Linked DNA regions of Homo sapiens: all the other regions are linked to region 2. The links are contacts of gene promoters, found by promoter capture Hi-C in blood cells and fetal thymus (Javierre and others, 2016). All regions are on one chromosome and are shown on one strand. Each heading gives the region's core, a stretch centred on a gene start or on the middle of the fragment in contact. The rest is flanking DNA. Distances are from core to core; before and after follow the strand shown. Region 1 overlaps ANKRD6 (ankyrin repeat domain 6). Region 2 holds the start of MAP3K7 (mitogen-activated protein kinase kinase kinase 7). Region 3 overlaps CASP8AP2 (caspase 8 associated protein 2). Region 4 overlaps MDN1 (midasin AAA ATPase 1). Region 5 overlaps MDN1 (midasin AAA ATPase 1). Region 6 overlaps CASP8AP2 (caspase 8 associated protein 2). Region 7 overlaps MDN1 (midasin AAA ATPase 1).

Region 1 (3,079 bases), core at 362-2,861, 980 kb before region 2:
CTTCAGCTAATAGTGGTAGGATAATGAATCAGGTGGGCTAGAATGGGGTTCTAGGTGGCAGTAGCCTGGGGACAATGGGCAGCAGTAAGTACCCTCCCTAATACACACACACACACTATATATATATATATATGTACAATTTCATGGCCAAGTCAAATCTGAAACCATAGTATCTCTAGCTTATGACACACAGACATCTGCATACAAGATCTTCAACAGCAATGCCAGGCAAATCAAGCTATAGAAATATACCCCATCAATGAAGTGACTTCTCCAGACCTTGCATGCTGCAGGAAATAGAAATGACAGCCTGAAACTCCTTTGTGAACGTAATCTCTGTGGGAGCAAGAGAACCCACCTCAGTGGCTTTGCCCTCCGGTGAAATCTCCTGGCTCTCACTACTTTTCCATTGGTTCATTAGAGAGCATAGTTAAGCAAGCCATGCCTTCGTCATTTTCATCCGTCTCCCCTCTCCAGTCCCTCATTACATCTTAGGACATCTTCAAGTCTCACACCTGTTCCTCTTTCCATGCTCATTCTTAAGCATGCCCTGGATTATTTCAGATGCCTCAAGCAGATTGGCAGGCTCAAATCTAGTCCCTCCTTTCATCCTGCTCTTCCTCTGCTCAGCGACCTTCTCATAAAGCTCCTGTCTGACACTGTCTATAAGCCTCTGCTGGCCCACCTCTGGAGTTCCTCCTGGCTCCTTTCCCCTAGAGCACCTCCTGTGCCCTCAGAGTGGGGCTCACTGGCCTGCTTCTCATTCCTGCCTATAGACCTCCAACCTGGCCCCAGGCCCTCTCCCTCCCCGAAGACCCACTGGGCTGCTTCTGCAACTCTCCCTTGGCACCGCATGCAGCTTTGTGCTGTCGTTTCCTAGTTCATATTTTTCATGGTTCCCTCATGGATCAAAAGCTTGAGGTCTGAGAGCAGCAAGCTACGTATGGTAATATCGCCGGTAGTGCCTGGCTCACAGCTCAGGAGGTGGGTGGCTGCCCATTTCTTCAAAATGCATATGGTCTGGAACAGGAGTTGATGGTGTGTAATCACTTTTTTTTTTCTTTTTGAGACAGAGTTTCACTCTTGTTGCCCAGGCTGGAGTGCAATGGCTCAATCTCGGCTCACTGCAACCTCCGCCTCCCGGGTTCAAGCGATTCTCCTGCCTCACCCTCCCGAGTAGCTGGGATTACAGGCACCTGCCATCACGCTCAGCTAATTTTTGTATTTTTAGTAGAGACAGCGTTTCACCATGTTGGCCAGACTGGTTTTGAAATCCTGACCTCAGGTGATCCACTCACCTTGGCCTCCCAAAGTGCTGGGATTACAGGAGTGAGCCACCGAACCCGGCCTGTAATCACCACGTTTTTTTGTTTGTTTGTTTGTTTTGAGACAGAGTCTCACTCTGTTGCCAGGCTGGAGCGCGATCTCGGCTTGCTGAAACCTCTGCCTCCCGGGTTCAAGCTATTACGCTGCCTCAGCCTCCTGAGTAGCTGAGACTACAGGCACACACCACCATGCCCAGCTAATTTTTGTATTTTTAGTAGAGACGAGGTTTCACCATGTTGGCTGGGATGGTCTTGATCTCTTGATCTTGTGATCCACCCACCTCGGCCTCCCAAGGTGATGGATTACAGGCGTGAACCACTGCACCCAGCCCAGAAATTGTTTCTGTGTAAATAAAATGGCTTCAGAAGGACAGGTCAGGAAACTCATGCGTCTCAAAGGGAGGGACATTTTGTACCAGCCATAGCCCGTAGAAAGATCCTTCTTATTCAGCAGATGTAGCAGCTCCTGTCTGGGAAATCAGTACCCACTACTCAGGGTGGGGAAAAACGCCTGCTACATATATATCTACCCTAGGTCACATTTTCTAATGTCAGGTTTTGAGATATAGGTATGAAGTCACGCTGTTCTGTGAGTTTTGACAAATGTATACGGTTGTGTAACCCCCACCATAAGATATAGAATGTTTCCATTGCCCCTTAATGTTCCTTTGCGCCCTCTGGTGGCAGGCCCCCAGTCACCCTCTCCCAGCCCCGGGCAACCACGGATCTGTTTTGCTTGTTCATAAAGGTCATGTAAATGGAATCATACAGTATGCGGCCTTCTGTGTGTGGCTTCTTAAACTTAGCATAATGTTTTTGAGATTCCTCCGTGTCGTTACATGGAGGAATGGTTCACGCCTCTTTATTGCTGAGGAGTATTCCATTGTGTGGATCTACCACAATTTGTTTATCCAAACCTATGGTTTTTAATTTTCTTGGTGCAAATGCTTTTCCACATCATCGATATTTCCTTATTGGCAATATAAGCTTTGGTATGATCTATTTCTAGAGGCATCAGATTTCTTTCATTTCACTCATGTATTCAACACGTATTTAGTGGTTGCCATGAAGCCCATAACTTGCAGACAACTTGAGAGTAGTGTTTTTAAAACCTGGGCAGACCCCTTGTTGCTGAGAACTAAACTAGCAGTGGTTCTCCACCTGGCTGCACATTAGACCCTCCTGGGGAACTATAAACAAACGAAAAAGGAAAAAAAACAAAACTTAAAAAAAAAAAAAACCTGAAGACCAGGCCTGGGGTGATGGACTGTCCCAGTTTGCCCTGGGCTAAAGGGTTTCCCGGAATGTGGGACTTTCAGTACTAAAATAGGGATGCTGGATACCCATCCCCAAGGCCACATAAATCAGAGTCCCTAGAACGGTTGTGGCTGTGCACAGGGCTGGTTTGAAAGCTTCCCCAGGTGATTCTAATGTGCACCCAAGGGTTGAGAACCAGCGAGCCTGCTAGAACCTCAGGCCTGTAATCCTCCCTGTGCCTGGAGGTAAAAGTGAGACAAAAGGTCCACCAGGGCTGGTTGGAGCTAAGGTGAAGAGAAGGGGGATAAGCAAACTGGCCGCATCCAGTATTCCTCTATTTTTTTTTTTTTTAACTCATTTCTCTTTTTAAAAGATCAGGAATCTGATATACTGGAGTATCGGCAGCCAGGACTGTGAGATCCAGAAGGGTGTGAACTAGGTGAGGGAGAAGCAATGAACAGGCAGTGTAATGCTCTGAGCCCACGCACCTGCAAGCC
Region 2 (2,747 bases), core at 227-2,726:
AAAAATATATATGCAGTTTTTACTTTTCTAAATTTTATAGTCATTAGAACCCAATTTACCTGTTAATTTGAAAAACGACGCTTTAAAGTCACTTTGAAATATCTTGTTCTAAAATAAATTACTGCAGAATAAAGAAAGGATATGGGTTTTCTGATAGCGATTTCTAGTCTAATATTATATTCTGATTGTCACCGAAATCATTCGTTATCTCTTCAGAATATGCTACTTGAAACATCTTTTGATCGTAGACCAGTCTATGTTACTTATGGTGAAATTCACCTACATTAGCCCAACTGAAAGCCGAGCATTTAAACATTACGAGTATTGCTGTGCGGTATCGGAGAAATTGAGAACCATTCGGTGCTAAGGGAAACACTTTATTAGACTTGATGATCTACTAATTTAACAAGCATTTATTGAGCATCCCCTACATGCCAGGTACTGAAGTAGAAGTCGAATATAATACAATCTTTGGCCATTAAGAACATTACGTCCGGCCGGGCCCGGTGGCTCACGCCTGTAATCCCAGCACTTTGGGAGGCCGAGGCGGGTGGATCATGAGGTCAGGAGATCGAGACCATCCTGGCTAACAAGGTGAAACCCCGTCTCTACTAAAAATACAAAAAATTAGCCAGGCGCGGTGGCGGGCGCCTGTAGTCCCAGCTACTCGGGAGGCTGAGGCAGGAGAATGGCGTGAACCCGGGAAGCGGAGCTTGCAGTGAGCCGAGATTGCGCCACTGCAGTCCGCAGTCCGGCCTGGGCGACAGAGCGAGACTCCGTCTCAAAAAAAAAAAAAAAAAAAAAAGAACATTACGTCCAGCGGACTGAAACTCCAGAACGGCTACGATCTTCGCTGAAACTACTACTTACAGATACGAGAACTGGTGGACCACACTATCTCACCAGTTCATTCTCCTGTTTATCACCGGAATATCAAATCCAAAATCAAGAGTACCCAAGAGAGGAAAAAAGGCAGCTACTCCCGAGCAGTTGAGCTCAGAGAGTAACCCCCACTCCCACGTTACTGAGGGCTGTGGGGTCTCCCGGGTGGACCCCGCAGGGTCCCGCGAATTAGAGGGGCCCCGGGAGGCACCTTCAGAGCCGGCACCAGGCAGAGGCGGGGGCGGGGCAGGCCGGGACCGGCGTCTCCATGCCGGGCCTCGCTCACCTCTTCCACCTCGATCTCCTTGTAGTCGATCTCTTCAAAGTTGAGGACCTGGGAAGGGGCTTCGATCATCTCACCGGCCGAAGACGAGGAGGAGGAGGAGGCGGCAGAGGCTGTAGACATGATCCCTCGCGGCGCCCGGTGGGGCCGGGAACGGTGCCACCCGGACAATCCGGGTGAGACCCGCGCCCACCCGCCTCCGGACCGACCCTCAGCCTGGAGCCGCGCAGTCCTACTACCCGGCGATCCGTGGCGGGGGTAGAGGCAGCGGCCACAGCCGTGTCCGGCTCTGGCTCCGCTGCGTTTTCCGCCGACGGGCCCCGCCCACTACACTTCCGGTTCCGGGCTGAAATCGGAAACAGGAGGAGGGCCGTAAACTCCGGGGTAGGGGAGGGGAGAATTTTGTGACTTGGAAAGAAAAGGAGGGACAGGTTGGGGGTGGGGTGGAGTAAGCTAAGAAGCAAACTTGGACCTCTAGAACAAATTTCGCGAGACCTTTATTACAGGGCCTCAGCAACCGGATGATACCGCGAGAGAGGACGCCTGACGTAATTAAAGTGCGCGAACGGAAGTGGCGCGGAACATGACGGAAAATCAGTACGGTTGGTCCCTTAAGGACCAGCGGGAAAGATAAAAGCTGGGGTTTAGTCTGTGCTGCGTGAAATATGTCTTGGCCTCACTTCCTGTCCTCTGAGCTGCCTGCAGCCGGGCGAGGTGGTGTTGAACTGTGTTTTTTGTGACGAAGCTTACTTTTAAGTTTCATCCCTAAACTAAGTTGACCTGTTTCTTTAAGACGGCTTGCAAAATGTGTTTTCCTCAATGTGGGATATGGAAAGAAGCAGTTGCTCCTGTTATTTTGAGCTAGTACCTGACGCTATGAGAAATTCTAAAAGAGCGAATCAGATCATGCAACATGAATAACTATGGAGGCTGAGTGATCAAGAACAGAAGTTAATATTTTGGTGTTACAAACTTTCCACGGATTAGGTGAATAAGATATTTATAATTTGGTGTGTTCATCTCAAGTTATGGATTACGAGTGCGGGGCACTAGTGCTTTAGATTGGTAAATGAATCATCAACAGTCGCCTTGAAAATCGAATATTTTTGTCACCATTTTCAGGACATGAGAAAACACGCTGAGAGTTTAAAGCAATTATGGTCCTCACAAACTAGATCATTCTGTCCCCAAGATGGTCAGTATTGCTCATGTTGTACTACCAGCACAAGTTTTAGTTTTAAACTAACTGTTGAATTTTATATAGTCCGTTTGACATAAAGCCTAACTGTGGAATTATGTTAAACACATTTGGGATTGCAAATAGATCATTGGATTTGACCATCAAGAAGTTACAAACTCCTGGGAAACATTCTGTCACTTTTTATTCGTAGTTCTAGTGACACGCAGTGACAGTTTGATGAGTGGATAAAAAAATGAAAGAAACGATAATTTCTTTTCACTGTACACTCTCTCTTTGCATGCTCTTACCCAAGGTCTCTGTTTCTCATACTATTTTTATAATGATGACTCCTAATCTCCAAATACTCAAGATTTTTCCTGAATTCTGGACCTATTGGTCATC
Region 3 (2,759 bases), core at 153-2,652, 710 kb before region 2:
GTTTAGTAGATTACTAGAGAGGCGGAGTTTTGCTGTGTTGGCCAGGCTGGTCTTGAACTCTGGGTCTCATGTGATCTGCTCACCTCGGCCTCCCAAAGTGCTGGGATTACAGGCGTGAAAAAAATGTTTTAAGAGATGGAGTCAGGCCAGGCGCGATGGCTCACGCCTGTAATCCCAGCACTTTGGGAGGCCGAGGAGGGCAGATCACAAGGTCAGGAGATTGAGACCATCCTGGCTAACATGGTGAAACCCCGTCTCTACTAAAAATACAAAAAATTAGCCGGGCACAGTGGCACACCTGTAATCCCAGCACTTTGGGAGGCCGAGGTGGGCAGATCATTTGAGGCCAGGAGTTCTATACCAGCCTGGCCAACATGGTGAAACCCCATCTCTACAAAAAATACAAAAATTAGCTAGGCATGGTGGCACGTGTCTGTAATCCCAGCTACTTGGGAGACTGAGGCATGAGAATCGCTTGAACCTGGGAGGTGGAGGTTGCGGTGAGCCAAGATTGCGCCACTACACTCCAGCCTGAAAGAGTGAGACTCTGCCTCTCAGAAAGAAAAGAAAAAAAAAACAAAAACTTGATTTGGACATAGAGCGCAGTGCTAGTGAAATCTTCAAAATATGTGTAGTAGTTTACTATGATGTTAAATTTCTTTTGTTTGTTCTGAGACGGAGTCTCACTCTGTCGCCCGGGCTGGAGTGCAGCCGCATGATCGCAGCTCACTGCAACTTCTGCCTCTCGGGTTCAAGTGATTATGACGTTAAATTTCTACTTATATAATTCAGAATGTTGCCGGGTGCAGTGGCTCATGCCTGTAATCCGAGCACTTTGGGAGGCTAAGGTGGGCAGGTCACCTGAGTTCAGGAGTTCGAGACCAGCCCAGCCAACATGATGATACTTCATTTCTACCAAAATTACAAAAATTAGCTGGGTATGGTGGAACGTGCCTGTAATCCCAGCTACTTGGGAGCCTGAGGCAGGAGAATCACTTGAACAAAACACAACAGAATACTGTAAGCTTGAATAATGGGGAATTTGGAGAAGAAGCTTATTCTAAAGAACTTTTTTTTAAAAAGCTCTGGGCAAAAGTGGCTTGATTATTTATTAGATTAACTGTGCTTTTTAAGATTTTTGCTGCCTTTAAGAAATTAAATCGTTTCTTTTTTTTACCTTAATGTTATATTAAAGTATGATTTCCGTTCTCTTGTGAAGAGAATGTAAATTCTTTTAAACAGAGATGGGGTTTCGCTGTGTTGCCCAGGCTGGTCTCGAACTCCTGGATTCAAGCGATCCATCTGCCTTGGCCTCCCAAAGTGCTCAGATTACAGGCGTAAGCTACTGCACCTGGCCAAAAATCTAAAACCATTTAATGAATTTGATATTTGAGATTTCTTTGCTTGCAGGATAGCACATATTGTGGGTTATTTCATTCGTAGCTTGCCTCTTAACTGATTTTTTTTCCCCACAAGTACTGTAGTCCTATTAAATTTTTGTCAATATCAAGTATAATGATAGTTACCAAACTGATTGCAAAAGCTAGGTTTTTTTTTAAATTTTGAGACCAATTGGAAGATGAGAAAGCTAGTTTATTAAACACCAATATCGTCTAAATGGAGCTCATTTAAGATAACACATTATGAGATAGTCCTATCAGAAAAATAGAATAATAACTTTAGCATTTTCTTACATTACAGATAAGTTGCTGAATTCCTGGGACTCTTAACTGATATTGCATACTACACAGAAGCTTCAAATTCCTCATGTTTTAAATGAGCACTAGAGGGAGGTTTATCACCTTTTTGGTTACCAGATGATAATCTATATTTGTTATTACTCAGTGACTCTCTAATTTCACATCAGCATGTTCAGCTTGTGCTAGTCATCATTCTGATTTGCTTATCTGTTTTTGGTCAAAATATTTATTTTTAAACATGTTAGAACTTACCAAAATGAAAGCAACAGTGATGTATTGAAATCTTAGTTTTGATATTTTAAAGAAATGACTTTCTAGATTAAAAAAATAGTTTTGTAGCATTTTAAACTTAGTGACTATTTAGTTCAATTGTTCATCCATTTTTTATTTGCTTTTATAATTGCCTCCTTGTTTTGGTATATTGTAAAATAATTTAAATAATGTATTTATAAATATGTATAATTATGATGTAAAATACCGTGTGTATATGTATGTATGTGTGTTTCTGTATATGCACACACATAAACGGCTTTGCCTAGCCAAGGATTTTTTTTATCTGTATAAAACTTTTTGTATAAAGTTTGCTTTCAATAACAGTAATGTATAATAAAACCATGTAAAGTTTTGTTGTATTTTGATTCGAATGTTTCTTTTACTTTTATTGTGTTTAGGTAATAATTTAAAAAATCAAAAGAGGTAAAAGTCCTAGGGGACGTAGGGTGCAATTTTGAAGTGGTTCCTGGTTGGGGTGTGGCTGGCTGAATGGTTCTGAGTAGATTGAGAAAACTGATTGCTGTTGCCTGCCTTCTCACAGCAAGTACTAGAACGGTGAACCATATCTCTGCTGCAGGTGTCCTCACAGATAAAATTAGAGTAGCACAAGAGCTTTTTGGGTGAAGCTTTGGAGAAAACAGGTGTAAGGATTGATTAGCTTGGGCATTACTTCTTCACCCTTCAGCCTTCAGACTCACAGAACTTCTCAGTTAATAATCTAGGCCCTAGACTCTAGGAAGTGCCTCTTCTCATTGCCATTTTTCTCAGGGTGTCCAAAGGAAGAAG
Region 4 (3,034 bases), core at 63-2,562, 850 kb before region 2:
ACATAGCCATGAATTCCAATTTCCAAGAAGCAGATATCTTTTTTTTATATTCTTTAAGAATATAAAAAATGATCCAAAAAACTATGTATTTAGTCTTGGAACCAGATCTGGGTTCTAAATTTATTCCATTGAATGTCTAAGATAAATATGCATACATCAAACCAATACAGGCTTCAAAAACAAAAAGAACCATATAGTTAGGAGTGTTGCCTTTTATTGGATATTTTAAATTGTTAATTCTAGATTATGGATACTAATCTATTTTCCTTGTGCCTGAGATTTTTCATAATAAAAATTATTTAATTAATTAATTAATTTTGAGATGGAGTCTGTCGCCCAGGCTGGAGTACAATGGTGCAATCCCAGCCTAATTTTTTTTTTTTTTTTTTGAGATGGAGTCTGGCTCTGCTGCCCAGGCTGGAGTGCAATGGCGCGATCTTGGATCACTGCAACCTCCACTTCCCAGGTTCAAGCGATTCTCCTGCCTCAGCCTCCCAAGTAGCTGGGATTACAGGTGCCCACCACCACACCCAGCTAATTTTTGTATTTTTAGTAGAGATGGGTTTTCGCCATGTTGGCCAGGCTGCTCTCGAACTCCTGACCTCAAGTGATCCGCCCACCTTGGCCTCCCAAAGTGCTGGGATTACAGGTGTGAACCACCACACCTAGCCAAAAAAATTTTTAAATAAAGTGAAAGAATAACATGTTCATTGATGACAACTAAAGAAATGCAGCTGAAATTCTACAGCCATTGTGTCAAGTGGTAATGATGAAAATATGAAGATGGGACACTTTAACAGAAGGTAACAGAATAGTAATATTCTCCTTGTCTACTTTGTTTCATTTACCTATCTCCTTTCTTCTTATAACACACCATATACACACAGGGCTGATGTCCTGTAAGAGATCCCTCAACTCCCAACACAAACCCTTCTATGACCCAATACTACCATCACCACCTGCAAACTCTCACCTTTAGGATCTATTCTGCCCAGACACAATCCTGGACGAAGATTATGACTGATGATCTGAATTAAATCTTCACGGCTTGTGCTTTGAGGGCACCATATTTCTGTAAACCGGTTTCTTAAGGCAGGAGACAGCTATAAGAAACACAAAACTTCAATGTGAATTTTTAAAACTGTAAGGAAAGCTGGAAAACAAGTCTTGAAAGAATGTTGTTAGCTGTTAAGTCCAGCAAATACTACACACTTTTAAAAATTATTTCTACTATCAGATATAATTAATTGAAGATGTACTTTGTCTTGACTCCTTATATTCCATGACACCTTCCAGTATCATCATCACTTTCTTAATAGACGTGGTCCAGAGGCCTTACAGACTAAGTGGTGGAAGCAGGATTCCAGCCAGTCCCAGTCAAATCTGAACTCTTCCCCTCAGGCAAAGATTCTTCCTTTTACTTTACCTTTACTTTGCATCAGGTACCTAAATAATACTTCAGAGAAAATAAACACCTGTCTTCCCACAGAGAAGGGCAGTCTGATGTAGGAGGAAGAAACTTCTTTTACATAGCTCAATGAGAGTGTGATTTTAAAAAGTATATATTCTACCTCTTGAATAACAAGAAATTGTTTAGCCACTCCAGTCTTAGGGCCTTTGCCCCTGTAGATTCCTTTTCCCACCACAAGGTCAGTTGACACTATTCACAAATGTTTGCAATGCCACATAAGCATCATTATTGGTTTGTCTGATTACTTTGTAATTACTTTCCTTTTACTTGATGATCATCTATCTGGTCTACCACAGAGGCCCAGGAATAAAGCATACGTGTGTGTACCTCATCAGTATCATAGACAACCAGTACCTCCGGTGTCCAGCATCCTACCTTGCTCTGCTTGTTAGGCATGCGAAACTAAAAAGTAACTTTCCCTTGGGTAAAAGTCAGCAAGCATTGACTTGAGGAAAACAAGATAAGATAATCTGACAGCCAAGCTAATATACACAAACTTGAAATCAGACCTCTCTGTGGCATTTCTACTTGCCCAGAAGCCAGTTTTTATATTTTGAATGCAATGTATTTTATTCCCTCTCTTCAGAGCATATCTTGAAGCATAGAGACAATTTTCATCTTATGATACTGAGGAAACCTAGGCCCAATATATCATTTCAGCTACCCACCAAATTACCAACACTCTTAATTGTCTTATTTAAGATCAACCCCTCTGTTTCTTCTCATCATCCCTGACCTGTTACATCACTCTCTTCCTAACTTTAACAGACTGGGATCCAACACATAGTGCTGACTTCTCCACTGAAAGGTTTCTTGAGCTGGAAACCAACAAGGTTGTTGGTTCCCAAATATATCTGAACACAACCCTCTGAACATAGGAACTACCCTCTGCCCTTTACTTTATCAGCAGTCAGAAAGTGACACACATAACCCTTACGAGAACAAATAAGCTCCATCTACAAACCAGAAGAGGGTTCCTGGTTGTGACTTTTTTGTCACTTTAAAACCACCCATGAAAGCAGAGGTGTGTTTAAGAAAGTGGACTGTAAAAACAGAGGTTAAACTTAAATTTCAGATCCAACTTTTCTCATCCATAAAACTACAATAATAACTTTCTTGCAGAGCTCCTGTGAGCTTTCTCAGGGTAACATATGTAAAGGGCTAGGCAAAGTGACTGTAACAATGACATTTCAGGCACATACACAAAGTGAGATATCAAATAAGGAGATATTTGTGTCAGAATTTTTTTCTAACCCAATAATTATTTTAAAATATTTTTGAGTTTTTACACTTTTTACCCACTTTTTACCTAACATAAAATTCCAAATCCATTATTACATACTATATTTACGAGTACCAGTAAGCTGAGGTCAAAACCTAGAAAGAAAATGTGCATCAGTAAAGTTTTACCTCCTTTTTTCCAAAGTCACCCCCAGGGTTCATGGTTGCTAGAATACGAAATTTTTTCCCAGCAGTCAACAGCTCTATTTCACTATCCTTGTCCTCTGGACTGCCTTTTTCAGCTAATACCAGAGACTTTTCTACTTCAAGGACACTAAAAGA
Region 5 (2,700 bases), core at 152-2,651, 830 kb before region 2:
ATTTAACCAAGTTGATCCTTCCTACAGGGTCACAGGACAGCAAACAGTAGAGATGTCCATGCCCTGGGATTAAAATTGGGGCAATGAAGTGAACGGGTCCAAATCCCTCTCTCACATCCACACACTCTTTCCCCGGAGACACACATGGTGAGAGAAAGAATCCAGAGTTCACTAGCTGTCATCAATTGCATCTTTAAAAATAGTAATAGATCCAGCAATCTCACTTCCAGGTATTCCCAAAAAAAATCTGAAAACAATATGTCGAAGGGATGTCTGCAATCCCCTGTTCATTGCACCACTATGCACAATAGTCAAGATATAGAATCAACCTATGTCTCCATCAACAGATGAATAAAGAAAATGTTGTATATATACATATATACAAACAATGGAATCCTATGGAATCTTATTTGGCTTGAAAAAAGAAATAAATTTTGTCATTTGCTATGACATAAATAGAACCAGAGAATATTATGCTAAGTGAAACAAGCCAGGCACAGAAAGACAAGTATTGCATGTTCTCACTTATATGTGAAATCTAAAACAATGGAACTCAAAGAAGCAGCCAGCAGAATGGTAGTTAGCAGAGGCTGGAGAGTTAGGGAGTACAGAGTAATGAAAGTACAAAGCCTTGGCCAGGCGCGGTGGCTCACGCCTGTAATCTCAGCACTTTGGGAGGCCAAGGCTGGCAGATCACGAGGTCAGGAGATCAAGATCATCCTGGCTAACACGGTGAAACCCCGTCTCTACTAAAAATACAAAAACAAAAAATTAGCCGGGCATGGTGGCATGCACCTGTAGTCCCAGCTACTCAGGAGGCTGAGGCAGGAGAATGGCGTGAACCCAGGAGGCAGAGCTTGCAGTGAGCCGAGACTGTGCCACTGCACTCCAGCCTGGGGGACAGAGTGAGACTCTGTCTCAAAAAAAAAGAAAAGAAAGTACAAAGCCTTAATTAGACAGAAAAAAATAAGCTTTCTTCCCTTTGAGATATATATTGCATAGCATGGCGACCATGCCATAAATAATAATGTCTTGTACATTTCAAAATTACTAAGGCAGTACATTTCAAATGTTCTCACTACAAAAAACGGTATTTGAGATGATGAATATTCACTAGCTTTAGTTATTCCATACCGTATTCATAAATCATAACACCCTTTTGTACCCCATGAATATATACAATTATAATTTATCAATTTGTACTTTTAAAATTTTTATTTAAATAATGATGGTGCTCATTAAGATCTTATAATTGCCATAATTACCATGAAGGACACTTTTCAAAATCTTCCCCCAAAATCATTATTTCATTAAGACAATACAAAATAGTAACCTGCCTGAAACATTGTTTTGCATAAAATCAACGTTCCCATAAGCTAAATAACAAAAACAGAAATACCTCTACAAATGCGAACAATAAGGTATTTTCAGTCATTTTCATCTGTTGTTGGGCATGGTTGAGTCTAAGACCAAATGCTTCCCATTTCTCTTTTATGAGTAACCCTAAAAAAGAAAGACAAGAATTCAGCACACATTTTGAATTGTAATATATACAACTTCTAAACAAACAAATACAATTAACAAAACACACAAAAATTAAGCATCTTACACAAAACACTAAGTCTAAAAACTTGTATAATGCTAACAAAATGCCAGACATGACACTAATTAGCCCACATGTATGAATATATATGTATTAACTGCCTCATTTATCCCTCACAACAACCCTCTGGACTAGTTATTTTTATTCCTGCTTTACAGATAAGGAACCACACAGAAGTAAACTAAGCCAGCAAAAGCCTCTTGGCTATAGAATCTAGCTCCTTAGAAATAAGCTTTTTCTGAGGAAATGTGCCTTACTGACCACTAAATAGTACTTGCACATCAGCATTACCAGTCAACTGTTTTTGTGGAAATACGTGAATAATGGGGCACAATACTTCACAATTAGTCACTTCTGCCAAAGTCCTAGAAAGCTCCAATTTGTATCGCTTTACTCTTCCCCAAAACTAATATGTTAACTAAAGCCCAGCCCCATGCCCTCCCCCATGGCAGCCTGGGTCACATCCTTACCAGTTTCACTGTCTTTTCCATCCTTGTTAACAGCAGACTTGTGTACATGCTGCATTAGTCTCAGGAGATCATGCCACCGTTTCTGTCTGTAACAGGTCTGAATGTGCCCCAAGAACGTAAAGTTTTGTTTCTTGGAAAATGTCTGAGCAAAGAGTTCCTCAAATGCCTCCCGTAAGGGTAGCCAAATAAGCTTATGGTCCACCGGTTTATAACTGAAACAGACACAGGTAAATGTGATTCACAAACTTCTGAAGTTAACAGAAGTTAGAAAGCATGGCTCAGAAAACAGGAGTAGGTCTCAGATTTCATTTAATTAACGTCAGAAATACTACTGAAATATTTAAAATCTACGTTACAGTTTTAAATTGTAATATTTTCCCCCATCGCAAGCATTTGAAGGGCCCATAATGAAGGTAAAAACTATTATTAGATAAACAGTGTTATGAAAAAAACTAGCCTAGCATGGCTGCTCACATCTATAACCCCAGCACTTTGGGACACTGAGGTGGCCAGATCACTTGAGCCCAGGAGTTCAAGCCCACCCTGGGCAACATGGCAAAACCCTGTTTCTACAAAAAAATACAAAAATTAGTCAGGTGCAGTAGCACACACCTGCAGTCCCAGCTA
Region 6 (2,700 bases), core at 2-2,501, 730 kb before region 2:
AGAAAAACAAATTAGCACACAGGTTTTTTATTCATCTCAGTCTCAGATTTAATTGAGCCTTGTGCAAAAACATTTTCTACTATTGAAGTGCAACTAGTGCTGGTGTCTGTTACTACTCACTCATACTCTTTTTTTTTTTTTTTTTTTTTGAGACGGAGTCTCACACTGTCGCCCAGGCTGGAATGCAGTGGCTTGATCTCGGCTCACTGCAACCTCCGCCTCCTGGGTTCAAGTGGTTCTCCTGCCTCAGCCTCCCAAGTAGCTGGGACTACAGGCACGTGCCACCACACCCGGCTAATTTTTTGTATTTTTAGTAGAGACAAGGTTTCACCATGTTAGCCTGGATGGTCTCGATCTCCTGACCTCGTGATCCGCCCACCTCAGCCTCCCAAAGTGCTGGGATTACAGGCATAAGTCACCACACCTGGCCGCACTCATACTCTTGAAGGTTATATGATATTAGAACATTTGAAAAGTGTAAGTTACTATAAATATTTTTAAACGTATCAGTAAGAGTGATATGCTGAGAATCTAATGACCTATTCAAATTAGAAACCTTTTCCATAATCAGATTTCTCAGAGTTTTGAACAGTTATGATCTTCATACCTAATTTGGTTGACACAACCATTTTAGGTAAATTGGTAGTCCATCTGTAAAATCAGTATAAATTTGGAATGTAGGATAAGTGAAATGTAGGATGAAGTATGGGAGATGGAGAAATGTATAATCTTTGAAGTAGATAAAATATCAAAAAGTGTAACAAGGCTGGGCGCGGTAGCTCACGCCTGTAATCCCAGCACTTTGCAAGGCCGAGGCGGGCGGATCCCCTGAGGTCAGGAGTTGGAGACCAGCCTGGCCAACATAGTGAAAACTCGTCTCTACTACAAATACAAAAAAAATTACCTGGGCATGGTGGCACGTGCCTATAGTCCCAGCTACTCAGGGAGGCTGAGGCAGAAGAATCGCTTGAACCCAGGAGGCGGAGGTTGCAGTGAGCCAAGATAGCGCCACTGCGCTCCAGCCTGGGTGACAGAGGGAGACTCCTAAAAAAAAAAGGTGTGACAAATATTTTCACTTTGTGAGGCCAAGGCGGGTGGATTTCTTGAGGTCAGGAGTTCGAGACCAGCCTGGCCAACATGGTGAAACACCATCTCACCATCTCTACTAAAAATACAAAAATTAGTGGGGCGTGGTGGCGTGCACCTGTAATCCCAGCTACTCGGGAGGCTGACGCATGAGAATGGCTTGAACCTGGGAGGGTGAGGCTACAGTGAGCCAAGATTTGCACCACTGCCACTGCACTCTAGCATGGGTGACAGAACGAGACTCAAAAAAACAAAAGAAAAAAGTGTAACAAGTATTTTTATGGAAGGTTTTTTTTGTTTGTTTGTTTTTAGACAGCGCTTCCAAATCCTGTGTACCATCAAGAAATTGTTTGGACTTATATGAAGAGATCCTGACTGAAGAAGGAACTGCAAAGGAGGCAACATATAATGATGTATGGGTTGCCACAATTATTAAGGACAGTTATTTACTGTTTTGTAGCTTCTGAAGAGCAGTCAGCTGCTTAGTTTTGAACAGATATTTTGTTTAGGAACTTAGCTCTTAGACTAACAAATATTTAAGTCAGTTTTTGTCTTCAGACCTGTTTTTTAAAGGAATGTTTTCTGAATACTTGTCTAAATTTAGTTATAATTTTGCTTGACCCAATTTAAGCATCTGAATATAAAACCTCAACAGGCAAACAGTGTTACAACATTTTTTCTTTCATGATATGTACAAAGTTAAATTATATGTTGCATAAAATGTCCTCAGACTTCTATTTCTTTCTACTATATTTGAATTTTAAGGTTTGGATGTTGAATGTGAAACTAAACAAAATAGATTATTTGTAGGCTTAACTTTAAAACTGGTTATCTTTCTGGTAGAAGTAGACCTCATCTGCCTTCTTAGTGAATTGATTTGCAAAATTTAAAATATTTAGAAATGCCAGTTAAGCTAAGAAAATAATTTTGAATGATACTTCAATTAATCCTTTTATATTTTATAGTTGCAAGTAGAATATGGAAAATGTCAACTACAAATGAAAGAGCTGATGAAAAAATTTAAAGAAATACAGACACAGGTAGAGTATAAATGAAAACATAAAAAACAAATTACCAGGCACAGTGACTCACACCAGTAATTTCAGCACTTTGAGAGGCAGAGGTGAGAGGATTGCTTGAGGCCAGGAGTTTGAGCCCAGCCTTAGCAAGGTAGCGAAACCTCATCTCTACAAAAAAATAAAACAATTAGCTGTGTATGGCCCCCTGTAGTCCTAGCTACTTAGGAGGCTGAGGAGGGAGGACTCTTGAACTCAGGAGTTTGAAGTTAAAGTGAGCTGTGATTGTGCCACTGCACTCCAGCCTGGGTGACAGAGCAAGACCCTGTCACTTAAAAAAAGTAAAACAACAAAAAAAAAGTTGTTATAAATAGAAATTAAAATGTTAAAGTGTTGACAGTTTATAAGGAAGCTTTCTTTTAGTATTAAATGAAATAGCAAATGTGGCAAGTATGCATTATTTCCTGAGTTGATGAAATTGAATGAAATAGCAAATGTGGCAAATATGCATTATTTTCCGAGTTGATGAAACTGATAAAGGAAAACGGCTTGATTTATTAAATGACATTGATTATAAAGGGTCTGTTAGACTTAGGCC
Region 7 (2,832 bases), core at 80-2,579, 890 kb before region 2:
GTACTGCTCCAGAAAGACATAAACATGGAATTAAATAACTCGGACCACAAAGATGTAATTTCTTCAGGAGACACCTAGAAATAAAGGAATAATTAGGTAAGAGAATACCTGAGAAAGACTCCATAAATTATTAGGTCTTCTTTCTTCTAAGGCCCATCTAAAACTGTCATAAGTTTAAAGGTATTAATCCAAATTTTTCCGTTTCTCTGCCACCCCAGTCAACTTGGTCAAGGAATGTGACATGTTTACAGTTTTATTTAAAGCTGTACTAATGAAATTCTATTAACAGGAGTGTACCAGTATTCATATTCAATTTATTAGAGAGGAAAAGTACAAAAAAGTATAAAAAACACTCTCACAATATATTTTTGAGCAATTGGGAGATTTTAAGCAGCAAATATTTTCATCTCATTTAATTGGAAACCAAATGAATACTCCTGTGATAAGAGTTGTAATATACCCTCATAATTACTATAAAAGAATATTTAAAATTCTTCCCTTTAAGAGGCAATTCAAAAAAACCTGAGGTTTCCAATATGGAATTTTGAGAATAAATAAAATGTTTCCCAACCAGTCTGTCAAAGAAAATCTAACCAACTCATAATGTAAAGGAGGCTTATGTCTTATTGTGATTTTTACCTTCTGATGATGCAGCAAGGACCACAGATCTCGAAGCTCTTGAGGTGTAACAGGTGTGTGATAAAGACAAAATGAGATGAGGTGACTTATCTCCTCATTTATCTGGGGTTGTTGATTTTTGCTGCATCTGTTCCAAAAATAAAGAGGGAGAGGGTGGGGTATGGACTATCAATGAACTACTGGAAAGCTGCTACATTAGGGAAGGTGTAACATAAAACTTACAGTACATTTATCTAAAAATGAACAACTCTACTGATAAAATTCTCGGTGACTTTTAAAGTAGAGTCAAAACTAGTAAAAAAAAAACCTTCAATAAATTTTGGCTTTCCAAAGTGGCAAATCACTTCCCTCTGCTTCGGTAACCATCCCTATCAAGTCTGTGGTTTGTTTATGGGTATAGGATACACAGAATAATCAAGAAAAAAAGTTCCCGCAAGGAAAACAACTGAAAGCATGGTTTACCTTCTGAGACAAGCTTGTGCCATAAAATCAGCTGTCACTTTGTACCGCCAAAGCATAGCCAGGTACTCCATTGCAGGCCACAACTGAACACTCCTGGTGAGGTGGATTACGGAGGTCAAGTCTGGATGGGACAGGGAGGAAGCTTCATCATGCTTTTTCTCCAGAAAACCAAGTGAGAGTCCTTTGGCTTTCAGTTCTAAACACTGAGCATGCACAAAATTCTTCAATTCATCTGGACAAAAAGACAAATGTTGTATGAGAGCACAATGGTTAAGAGTATAGCCTCTAGATTCTCAACAACCTGCTATGTGACTGCAAGCTTAACTTGAGCTAATCAGAGTTAAGCTCCTTAACCTAAGCTTTGAGATTCTCATCTGTGAAATGATATTAATACCCACATGATTCTGATGGAATTAAAAATATATGTGAAATTTAGTCCTATGCCTGACACTTATATAAAGGTATATAAACTCTACCCCTCACATCACCCAGAAAAGAAAAATCTAAGGGAAAACTTATTAACTACCAGCAAGAGGATATTTTCAGAGCATCTGTCAGCTAGCCAAGTGCTAGAATATTTTACCTAGGCTGACATCTTCCAAAATATTTGCTCTGAGGATCAGTCCCCAGGCTTGCAGGAGACTTTTCTTTAATGTCCACTGAGAAGCAACCACTTGGAGACGGTTAATGTCTTCCTGCCATCCACTCTCCCCAAGGGCAGACATCTGCTCCCTGATGGCAAGGACTTTGTTAAGGACCTTCAGTTGTGAAAAACACTCCACCACCAGCTTGTCCTGAAACAACAACACCCACAAGAGCATACTATAGAGCACAAATGTGGTTTTCTTTAGTAGCCTATACAGGTCTCAGAATAAATTTATGATATATTCTTAATGTTTCCAGAAAACAAAGGACTTGTTTATTTCTGTTGCTGTCAAGAGATTTTACAGTGGTAATAAAGTTAACTCTCTACCCAGCCTTAACAGTCTCAGGAATAAGTAAGATGATAATATGTAGCAAATTACTAAACAGGATTCATGGGATAGAGCCTGCCCTCTTGTTATGTGCGGGTTCCGCATCAATTCAACCAACCGTGGGTCGAAAATATTCAGGGGGAAAAATGGATGGTTGCGTCTGTGCTGAACGCATAAGGACTTTTTTATCTTGTCATTATTACCTAAGCAATACAGTATAATCACTATTTACACAGCGTTTATATTGTATGAGGTACTGTAAGTAATTTAGAGATGATATAAAGGGTACATAGGTTATATACACACACAACGCCATTTTATATAAAAGTCTTGGACTTTCCTGGAGGTTTGTATCCAAGGAGAATCCTGGAACCAATCACCCCCAGATGCCAAAGGAAAACTGCAAGAGTTATGCTTTCAAGACAAGGATTAATCTTATACAATGTCAGTTCCCAAGTTCCAAAAGGACTTCAGAAGTAGTAGTCACATTTCTTTTATTTACTAAATGCTTCCAGGTGTACCTTAAAAGGAAACGGTCGTCCCAGGAACTTCTGCAACTTCTTTATACCAGCGAAGCCACCAGTCTGGCTCCCCAGACAATTCTGAATATGTTCTGAGACAGTCTGAACTTCTTTGTAATATCTTTAAAGGAGAACAAGGGCACAGGGGAAATAAGGAAAGGGGGAAATGCTAGACAGTAAGAGAAGCCATTAATATTTTCTTTCTTTCTTTCTTTTAATTGTACATTCACCAATAT

The links. Contacts are between HindIII fragments. The CHiCAGO score rates a contact against its expected background, and 5 or more counts as called.
Region 1: a fragment that was not itself captured here is called in contact with the fragment with the promoter of MAP3K7 in region 2 in 3 of 17 cell types (activated CD4 T cells, non-activated CD4 T cells and total CD8 T cells); the score reaches 6.8 in activated CD4 T cells.
Region 3: a fragment that was not itself captured here is called in contact with the fragment with the promoter of MAP3K7 in region 2 in 3 of 17 cell types (total CD4 T cells, total CD8 T cells and activated CD4 T cells); the score reaches 8.7 in total CD4 T cells.
Region 4: a contact is called between a fragment that was not itself captured here and the fragment with the promoter of MAP3K7 in region 2, in 1 of 17 cell types (non-activated CD4 T cells). The highest score is 5.2, in non-activated CD4 T cells.
Region 5: a contact is called between a fragment that was not itself captured here and the fragment with the promoter of MAP3K7 in region 2, in 6 of 17 cell types (non-activated CD4 T cells, total CD8 T cells, naive CD8 T cells and 3 more). The highest score is 8.0, in non-activated CD4 T cells.
Region 6: a fragment that was not itself captured here is called in contact with the fragment with the promoter of MAP3K7 in region 2 in 3 of 17 cell types (total CD4 T cells, activated CD4 T cells and non-activated CD4 T cells); the score reaches 7.1 in total CD4 T cells.
Region 7: a contact is called between a fragment that was not itself captured here and the fragment with the promoter of MAP3K7 in region 2, in 2 of 17 cell types (naive CD8 T cells and naive CD4 T cells). The highest score is 6.5, in naive CD8 T cells.

Annotation. Positions count from the first base shown.
Region 1 is chr6:89,608,253-89,611,331 of GRCh38, forward strand. The region is part of intron 5 of ANKRD6 (ankyrin repeat domain 6); the gene reads left to right. All of the region lies in intron 1 of LOC124901359 (a long non-coding RNA gene), which reads right to left. Among named protein-coding and RNA genes, the nearest start is that of MDN1-AS1, 29 kb to the right of the region's middle. RefSeq lists a silencer at 1,130-1,329. The HindIII fragment of the contact is 1,397 bases long and covers 914-2,310 here.
Region 2 is chr6:90,585,596-90,588,342 of GRCh38, forward strand. It overlaps MAP3K7 (mitogen-activated protein kinase kinase kinase 7), which reads right to left and starts at 1,477. Exons shown (of 17, transcript NM_145331.3): 1 at 1,169-1,477. The coding sequence starts at 1,288. LOC124901363 (a long non-coding RNA gene) reads left to right here and starts at 1,199. Exons shown (of 2, transcript XR_007059680.1): 1 at 1,199-2,360. RefSeq lists silencers at 1,297-1,416, 1,413-1,609. The HindIII fragment of the contact is 2,842 bases long and covers 1-1,908 here.
Region 3 is chr6:89,872,105-89,874,863 of GRCh38, forward strand. It overlaps CASP8AP2 (caspase 8 associated protein 2), which reads left to right. Exons shown (of 10, transcript NM_012115.4): 10 at 1,697-2,332. The coding sequence ends at 1,705. Among named protein-coding and RNA genes, the nearest start is that of GJA10, 21 kb to the right of the region's middle. The HindIII fragment of the contact is 700 bases long and covers 1,053-1,752 here.
Region 4 is chr6:89,737,353-89,740,386 of GRCh38, forward strand. MDN1 (midasin AAA ATPase 1) reads right to left here. Exons shown (of 102, transcript NM_014611.3): 32 at 2,882-3,026; 33 at 974-1,103. Among named protein-coding and RNA genes, the nearest start is that of MDN1, 81 kb to the right of the region's middle. The HindIII fragment of the contact is 5,216 bases long and covers 1-3,034 here.
Region 5 is chr6:89,760,246-89,762,945 of GRCh38, forward strand. MDN1 (midasin AAA ATPase 1) reads right to left here. Exons shown (of 102, transcript NM_014611.3): 16 at 2,074-2,285; 17 at 1,400-1,503. Among named protein-coding and RNA genes, the nearest start is that of MDN1, 58 kb to the right of the region's middle. The HindIII fragment of the contact is 864 bases long and covers 970-1,833 here.
Region 6 is chr6:89,853,419-89,856,118 of GRCh38, forward strand. CASP8AP2 (caspase 8 associated protein 2) reads left to right here. Exons shown (of 10, transcript NM_012115.4): 4 at 1,399-1,499; 5 at 2,052-2,126. Among named protein-coding and RNA genes, the nearest start is that of CASP8AP2, 25 kb to the left of the region's middle. The HindIII fragment of the contact is 2,521 bases long and covers 1-2,512 here.
Region 7 is chr6:89,698,962-89,701,793 of GRCh38, forward strand. It overlaps MDN1 (midasin AAA ATPase 1), which reads right to left. Exons shown (of 102, transcript NM_014611.3): 55 at 2,597-2,717; 56 at 1,685-1,895; 57 at 1,102-1,333; 58 at 640-766; 59 at 1-74. Among named protein-coding and RNA genes, the nearest start is that of LYRM2, 62 kb to the left of the region's middle. The HindIII fragment of the contact is 177 bases long and covers 1,242-1,418 here.